Linked DNA regions of Homo sapiens: all the other regions are linked to region 3. The links are contacts of gene promoters, found by promoter capture Hi-C in human tissues and cell types (Jung and others, 2019). All regions are on one chromosome and are shown on one strand. Each heading gives the region's core, a stretch centred on a gene start or on the middle of the fragment in contact. The rest is flanking DNA. Distances are from core to core; before and after follow the strand shown. Region 1 has its middle 13 kb from the start of PAX9. Region 2 overlaps SFTA3 (surfactant associated 3). Region 3 holds the start of NKX2-8 (NK2 homeobox 8).

Region 1 (2,766 bases), core at 88-2,587, 66 kb before region 3:
GCAGGTAGATTGGCCTTAGCTACACAGCATTAAGGAAACACGAGCTTCAGCCAATCCAAAGTGGAGTTTGGAGCGATGAGAAGCCACTCAAAGTTATCAGTGTTCTGTGGCTGTTCTCTGATCCATGGTTTAAGTCCACTCATACAGTTGGACCAGAAATGATGATTTTGACAAACTCCAGTTTATCTCCTGGAGCTTTCTTGGAACATCAGTTTGGGTTATTTTCTGTAGTATAGTTGTACGTGCCAATCTCAGGGCAGCTGCCTTTCTTTAAGCTCATGACTGAGGGTGGCAAGAGGTAGTGATTAGTCATCTAACCTCTCAATAGCTGTAAATACTAATTGAATATTTTGAACAACTCTTCAGGTCACATGACAACATGTGGCCATTTGCTTCTTAGACTTCTATTGCATAGCTCGGGGAGCAAATATTCTTTAATAATTGTTAAATATATCTTACAAATCTTCCAAAGAGGAAAAAGTCTCCATCCAAAATTAAACACAGGTTATGTGCTAAAAATGGGCAGTTGGAACTAAAACATAGCTGTTATTATCTTTTCTACAATAACATTTACACACTATTAACTTTTCTGCAATAACGGAACATTAAAGAATAAAATGTAAATTTTACTGCTTTATTTGCAGGGATGAAGGTCAGAGTGTCAAATTGCAGATTTTGGATCCTCAATAATGGGCCGCTGTATTTAACCTCTTCAACTTCTTTTCTCCACTTATAAGAAGGAACAAAATAAAATGTTTTGTGGAAGTTTATATTGAAATGAGGTCAGGTAAACTAATGACTGCTTGGTATTTTATGACAAGTTTTATAACCTTGGAGTTGCCATAACTTTCAAACGATCATCAATAAAGTTTTATTGCAAAAGGGTCGCCATGTGTCTGAATGCTTTTGCACATAGTAAAGCTATGCTGCCCCATTGTCGTAGCTCACCAGCCCCTTTTCACCCCAGCCATAAAGTCCTCTTCTTTTTTATTGGAGGTTGAAAAGTCCTCGGGTCTGCTCTCCTCCATCAAGTTGGCAATGTGGGAACAACACAGAAATTAAACTACATGATTAAATGATCGTACACAACCAAATCTTCAAGAATATGTAATAAGACTGCTTTTTAATAATTATAAATTTGGATTTTAAATGGGTTCCATTTAATAAAATAAATGACAGTGGGCGGCGGGTGGGAAAGGAGGAAGTCAGATGAGAGTTTCCTCCAGAAACTTGTGTTTGAATGTTAGATAAGACCTATCAGTCTACCCGATATACCCAGAGGGCTGCCATTAAATAATTAGGTGCTTAGGGACCGATAATGGTCTCAAGACAAAACAACGAATTGCTAAAGACTCTTTGAGCTGACCCGAGGATCTTAAAGATTTAAGAGGCCTCGCATTGCGTCCTAACTTGAATTTTCCCACGGAGGGAAGGGTTGGGCTACAGCTCATGCTTGCCCGATTGCTGCCTAACACATTCCCTAAACGCTCCCTAAAGCCAAACCAAGAACTTCAAGTGTCCACTTCACGGCATCAGCTGTCAGGTTCAGGTTCGGGTCCGCCTACTCCTTGTCCACTGCCGAATGCTATGTGGAAATGAAGCCGAGAATAATGTCCTGCGATTTAGATGAAGAGAACAGTAAGAAAGGTAGTATGAAACGAAGCTTCTACTGACGCGCCCTTCAGACAGGTATTCCGCAGGCGAGGGTTGTGACCCAGGGAGAGAGTGCGGGAGTGCTAGCAGAGCGGCGGGAGCGGAAGGAGAGGCTGGACGAAAGTTGGAAAATCATCCCATCTCGGGACTTGAGTGCGAGAGCCCGCCCCGGAGTCGGCAAGTCTCCAGGGTTAGAAGGCCCTAGCTCCAAAGTTTTTTGTCCCGGCTCAGGCAGGTCCCCCACCTCTAACCTTCCCCGATTTGCCTGGTTGCTCTCGGGGAAGGGACTGGTAAATACCGCCCTCTCCCGGATTTCCTGAAACTCTCACCAGCGCGCTGAACCCGCTCCTTCCCACGTTCGGCGCCCCGCACTCTGCGTCTGCGCCCACTGCGCGTCACCTTCCCTCCGGCCGAGACCACTAGAGCCCTAGATCCGGGATCTGCGGAGGGAACAGGACCTGAGCCCCTGCTGGACCCTGCAACTTGGCTGCGGAGAGCGCGCAGCCACAAGCGCCGTTCCTCACTTGAGGGCTTCGCGAGAGCTGGCTCAGCCCCGCGGGTCCCCGCCAGTCCTCGCCAGCCCTCGCCAGCCCCGGTCGGCCCCACGCTAAGTCCGCAGCAGGCGGGAAACCCCGCAGGCCTTCCCGGACTCACGAACTGCCTACTCCCACCCCTAAAGAGCTCAGACCTGAAGGTGCTCTTATGGTGCGTGGCCGCAACCCCGGAGTGGAATGGGTGGGGGGCCTCCATGGCGAAGGAGACGCCGTGGGCGAATCGGCTCCCAGCTCGCCCCTCATGTCCTACAGGTCACTAGCCGAGTCCCTACCCCGGGCGCTCCCATGAGGCACCAAGAGCAGCCACGGCCCAGGGAAGGGCCTGGGTCTTCACTGCTGGAGCGGGCCCCAGTCGAGGGCGCGCAGGTGTCGGGGTCCCCAGCAACCTCCGTATGCGCGGAAAGCCGTAAACGGGGTTCTGAGGCCGGCGCCAGGCACAAGGATCACCCCGCGCCACGGGCCACGGCTCAGAGCGCCCACGAAGCCCGGCTGCCAGGTCCAGGCCGCGGCCGGGCGGGACCCACTCGCTCCCCACGGTGCTGGCGCGGCGGGAGTCGGG
Region 2 (2,764 bases), core at 83-2,582, 75 kb after region 3:
AGGGCCATTTGCAATCATAAGAGCCGGACACGCTGAAAGATACGGAGCGCATTCCGAGCAGATGATGGGTGACAGAATCTGTAGGCAAGCACTAAATATTTTCTTCCAGCTTCAGACCTTGTGCATCAGTCTTCTGTCCCGAACCATTTTAAATGGAATGTTCCTGTTGAATATATAATTTAATTGCTTAGAAAATGGAGACTCCATGGTTGGGAGGAAAAAACCGGCAAGAAAGGTGACAGAGAAACTATGTTGATTGTGCTTCTCCTCAGTACTGGTTAACAGTCATTTAACGAAGAGTCTACCCATTGGGTAGAAGACTTGATGGAAAAAATGAATTGGTTTTTAAAGGAACAACCGCCAGAAGGGGTTGCCGGGGCTAACATTCTCAGGCTGGAGCTGCAAAGCCCTGGCTGGGTGTGGCCGGGACTGGCGGGGAGTCTGCGGGGCCTTCAGGGAAGCCCAGGGACAACTCCGCGGCCTCCCAACGACGCCGCCAAAGACCTGGGGGCCCCTCGCGGCCCGGCTGTTCCGAATTGGTTGCCAAATGTCTAAACTAGAAGTGTGGACACTTGAAATCTCGAGCTGTCTTAGGGTCTCTCGCTACGAAAGTTTGGTTTCTAGGACCAAGAGAAGCAGCTGTCCCAGGCCCTTCGTTTCCTGTCCGCAGCCTCATCCTCCCCGCACCCCCCAGCTCTCAGTCTCCCCAGTCCCAGTCCTTACCCCGTCCACCCGCGGCCTCTCTCCCAACACCCAGCCGGCAGCCTCGCTCTCGGCCCCCGCCCGCCCCGCGTCTCCGCGTACCCAGGTCCCCGCGCCCCGCCCCGCCCCGCCCCTGCCCAGGTTCTCCCTCCCGTTCCCGCGCTGGGAACAGCCTCGGCCGCGCGCCCCCTGAGGACGCGGCCCCCAACCCCTCCTGGAGACCACACCGGCAAGTCTGGTGTGCGGAAGAGCAGAAACTTCCTCGGAATTTCGATCCCAGAATATACAAATATTAGTTCACTAGGTCACGACGATGATGCAAACTCTAACTTGCAGGGATTTTTAAAAAAGATCTTAACGCACAATCTTTCTTTGTACAAATAAACGAAACCAAACAAAGCCAGCGAACTACTGCTGTTTCCCTCGTGAATTTTCTTAAGGAAAAGAGAGATTCCTTCTCTCCCCAGATATCAACATCTAACGAATTTTCTAGGAGACTGAAACTCAACCTAATAATAGTATGTGCTTAATGCTGATTCCATTTTTGTTTCAAAGGGGGGTAATTTATTAGCTTCCTCAAAGTGGTGCCTCGTAGGCAGGTGTTGTATTTTTTGATATCCTTGTAAAGAGTTTTTGCGTCTGGGAAGATCTCAGAAGAACCAATAAATAAGGTGTGTGTATGTTGGGGGGTGGAGGTGGGATTCTGTACAGCTCATGGCCCTGCTTGTTCAATTTCATGCAAAACTCATTCTAAAAGCCCCAGGGTTCTCTTTAATAGGGGCCAAATGGCAGGAACCCCAAAGATCTAAATATTTCACTCTTCCTCCCTGTACCTCCCTCACTGCGCCTTCCACCCCCAGCTATAAATTCTAGATTCCCCTCCCCGCCCCCCCCCCACCCATCCTGCGGATAATTGAGTGGCTCAGAGGCACTAATCTGCCCTGGGGTGAGGTGGGGCTGGCAGTGGAGGTAAGGCCTCCCACAGGCTCCCTGGTTCCGCAAAATGGGAGGACAGAACTCCTACAACTGGCAGGAGGTGAAGAGGACGCTGGGACCCACAGGACCTAGTCTGCCAGGGGAAAGGGAAACAGGCTCCCCTGACTAAGGACACAGCCTCAGACCAGGCTTGGCTGGGTGGACAGGAATGTGGTGCCCAAGAGCAGCAGAGATCCAGGGTAGGAAGTTGCAGCCATCTGAAAACCCCATAGAGATATATTGCCCACATGACTATTTCTAGAAGTGGTGGTTGATCCCTTCACACCTTCCCGGATCCAGGATATACAGCGGCTCGCTAGCCCAAGTCTTCAGGTGCAATCCCAGTCAGGGAGAAGAAACTTCACCCTGCCCTCCTCAGGGAGACCCCTCCTGCCTCCCCAGTGTAGGTATGTGAGACCCTCATTAGGACCCCAAGATCATGTGCAGGAACATCAAGCATCTTATTCTTGTATTTACAACCTGGTGTGACTTTATTATCTACTTTTCTTCTGTTTCTTCATCCTTCCCCATTTTCCATTTCTTTATTCCAATGCCGATGTTTTCTTTGCTTTCTTGTCCAACTCCAGTCATGGCTGCAATCCTACTTTATAGGCAATTCGGTATTGTTTATCCTAATGTCAGTACTAAAAGGAAAAGTAGAGAAAGTGGATAGGCTAAGTAATAAAGAATGAAAGCCAGTAAGGTCCATATGGGAGACCAGTTGGGGAGTAAGAAGACCAGAGAAGAGCCAAGGTCAGCCTATCAAAGGACTAGGGAGAAAAACGATAGAAGCAAAGAGAAGCCGCAGCCTGGAGAAAATCAATTAATGTCAGTAGATGGGGAGGAGGGAGTACAGCCGGGACCCAAGGCATATGCCTCCCCTGGAGGGGCATAGAGAGGGATAAGGGGGAAGCAGATGTGTGTATGGCAGTCTGTCTCTGAGCTGAGGGGCAAAAACTAGCAAAGCTTGCCTTCCCTTCTTCCGGGCTTTAAGAAGGGGGACTGTCCTGCCAGAGCAAATTGAAAGACTGTGGAGCCCAGGGGTCAGGACTGGGAGTTCGCCAGCCGAACTCCAGCCTGCTCCTCC
Region 3 (2,813 bases), core at 53-2,552:
TTCTGGTGCAGCCACCCAAGTACAGAGCCCTTCGCTACAATTTAGCAACTAAATATCCAAACTACTAGCTTCAGTAGGAGAGGCCTCTGAGAGGGCGTTCCTCTGTAGATTGAAGCGCGGCCAGAGCTAGGCCATGGCCCAACAAAATGTATCCACGGCGGCCTGTTCCCTGCGCCTCCTACATTGATCATTTTCTAGGGTGGAACTGTGGAAACTAGAAGATCCCAGAGAAACCCATGGCCGGTGGTATTTTCTGCCGGGTAGGCCCTGTCCTAATTCTCCCGATCGGTCCATTCCCGGACCAAGGCGGGCAGCCTCGTCAGGGTCTGCCATGCTGCGAGCGGGGAGCGTAGGCCATGGGCAGGCTCCTGGGCAAAGACCAAAGCCCAGGCAGTGAGAGTGCCGTTGAGGCTATGGGGCCAAGGCGCACAGGCGGCACCAGTTCATCTGGCGACTCCAAGGAGGCCTCAAAGCCCTCACAGGATGCCCTGAGAAGCGCCCCCGCCCAGGGGCTCTAAAGCGGGCCTGGACCCAAATTTGTGGAGCTCGGCCTCCGAGCTCCGAGATCGGCAGCGGCCGGGCGAAGCTGGGCCAAAGAGACAGGCACTGTAGACCTAAGTAGCTTGGCTACAAGCCTCTTCTGTTTTGCCGGCCTGTGGAGACGTGGAGCTGGGGCTCCGAATGTTGTCCCAGCCCTTCCTCAGCACCTCTGAGGCTGTTAGGGGGATGTATGGTGTGATCCGAGGCTCCCAGCGGCCGTTGAAACCCCTGGGCCAATGCTGGCAGGGCCAGGCTAATCTTTACGCCCTCCTGAAACTTGTCATCCTGAATCTTAGAGGGGCCCAACCAAAAAGAGAAAGGGAGCGCGCCAGAGTTTAACGCCGCTTTGTAAATCACTTTCTGGATAATTGCGGGAAACTACCACTCCAGCAAACAAGCTCGAAGAATAAAGCAAACAGGGAATAAATTCCTGGGTGCTAATAAACCCACCCCTGCCACCCCCACCCTTCCCGGCGCTCCCGCGGGGCCTGGCCTCAAGTCAGCCCAGGAGGAGGAGGAGGAAGCTGGGGCTGGGTCAGGCGGGTGGTGGCCACCGCTCGCCACCCAAGATGTTATTCACTGGTAACAATCCCCATTATCTGTCCCCACTTTGGGCTAATCAGACAGAATCGCTAATGCCAAATGCTGCTTCCTGCAGCCTCTGGGAGGTAACTGGGCGCCAAGGGGCGGGGTGCGGGGCGGGGTGCGGGGCGGGGCGGGGGCGGAGGTGGCACCTTCCGGGCTCGCCCCGGCTCTGGTCCAGTGCTCATTCAGGTACTTAACACCCTGGAGACCCGGACCTCGGCTTTCAAAGCGGCCTGGGTGGGAAGAGCTGTTTATATAAACAGAGATTCCGCTGTAAATGCGCTAATATCCCGGCTGCCAGCGCATGGCGAGCGCCTCCCACGCCCATCCGTAGGAGCGGCGTCCCGGCCGCCCCTCCGTTCCCAGCCTGCCCTGCCCCCGCCTCCTTCCCCTCCTCGGCCATGGCCACCTCTGGACGCCTGAGCTTCACCGTGCGCAGCCTTCTAGATTTACCCGAGCAGGACGCGCAACACCTGCCGAGGCGGGAGCCAGAACCACGCGCCCCCCAGCCCGACCCCTGCGCCGCCTGGCTGGATTCGGAGCGCGGCCACTACCCTTGTAAGTGCGTGGTGGATTGCGGTGCGGGGTGGGAGGTAGGAGGCGTGGGGCAGCAGAATCAAGGGCCCAGCCCACGAGGGGCCGGAAAGCCGAAATCCCAGCCCAGAGTCTAGATTTCCTCAGTCTTGGAAACGGGAGCCCTGTCCTCGAACCCCTAACGCATTCATCCCGGTCGGCACATCCTAAGAGCAGATCCCTGCCTGGCACTGGTGCTCCGAGATTTGGGGTTTCTGTGTCTGACGATTTCTAGAGGTCGGAATAATTGAAATTTAAAACGCGCCGCCACCTGCCGCCCCCACCCCACCCCCCGCCCCCTCTCCATGCCTGAAAACACGGCCACGATCTCCAGGCCTCCGTCTGGGATGGCCAGTGTTGGCGAGTTTACCCCCACCCCGTTCCCACTCAGGGCTCCGCAAACCTCGGCACACTGCAGTGCAGTCGACCTGGAGGAGGCCGGCGCTGGTGACCCAGCTTGTGATAAACTGGTCGGCCAGCGCAACTACCGGTGCGGACATGTTAAGAGGGCCCCGGGGTGGGTTTTTTCGGGGCACGATCTCAGGCCCGCTGATGACCGCTGTGGTATGAATGAGGTCACCGCATTCGGAGAGGTGGATGTCCAGATGTGGACTCAGGAAATGGCCTCATCCCGAAAGTCTCGGGCTAGTGGGCGTGCCCTCTGGCCAGTGCCTCCACGCCCGCGCCAGAAGGGCAGCAGGCCCTCGTAGGGTCCGGCGTCTCACCCACCCGTGTCTCCTTTGCTGTCCCTAGCCTCGGACGAGAGCAGCCTGGAGACCAGCCCGCCAGACTCGTCGCAGCGGCCGTCCGCTAGGCCCGCGTCTCCGGGCTCGGACGCCGAGAAAAGGAAGAAGCGGCGGGTGCTATTCTCCAAGGCGCAGACGCTGGAGTTGGAGCGGCGCTTCCGGCAGCAGCGGTACCTGTCTGCGCCCGAGCGCGAGCAGCTGGCGAGCCTGCTTCGCCTCACGCCCACGCAGGTCAAGATCTGGTTCCAGAATCATCGCTACAAGCTGAAGCGCGCTCGCGCTCCAGGGGCGGCGGAGTCGCCTGACCTGGCAGCATCCGCCGAGCTGCACGCCGCGCCCGGCCTGCTGCGTCGCGTGGTGGTGCCGGTG

The links. Contacts are between HindIII fragments. The study calls those that stand out against the background at their distance.
Region 1: a fragment that was not itself captured here is called in contact with the fragment with the promoter of NKX2-8 in region 3 in 9 of the 25 tissues and cell types used here (H1 embryonic stem cells, bladder, heart left ventricle and 6 more).
Region 2: a contact is called between a fragment that was not itself captured here and the fragment with the promoter of NKX2-8 in region 3, in 4 of the 25 tissues and cell types used here (H1 embryonic stem cells, heart right ventricle, mesendoderm cells and 1 more).

Annotation. Positions count from the first base shown.
Region 1 is chr14:36,647,316-36,650,081 of GRCh38, reverse strand. No RefSeq gene overlaps it. Among named protein-coding and RNA genes, the nearest start is that of PAX9, 13 kb to the left of the region's middle. RefSeq lists an enhancer at 1,901-2,730. The HindIII fragment of the contact is 7,467 bases long and covers 1-2,766 here.
Region 2 is chr14:36,506,452-36,509,215 of GRCh38, reverse strand. All of the region lies in intron 1 of SFTA3 (surfactant associated 3), which reads left to right. Among named protein-coding and RNA genes, the nearest start is that of NKX2-1-AS1, 11 kb to the left of the region's middle. RefSeq lists an enhancer at 1-423. The HindIII fragment of the contact is 4,246 bases long and covers 1-2,764 here.
Region 3 is chr14:36,581,103-36,583,915 of GRCh38, reverse strand. NKX2-8 (NK2 homeobox 8) reads left to right here and starts at 1,302. Exons shown (of 2, transcript NM_014360.4): 1 at 1,302-1,683; 2 at 2,452-2,813. The coding sequence starts at 1,527. RefSeq lists enhancers at 1,911-2,721, 2,722-2,813. The HindIII fragment of the contact is 13,278 bases long and covers 1-2,813 here.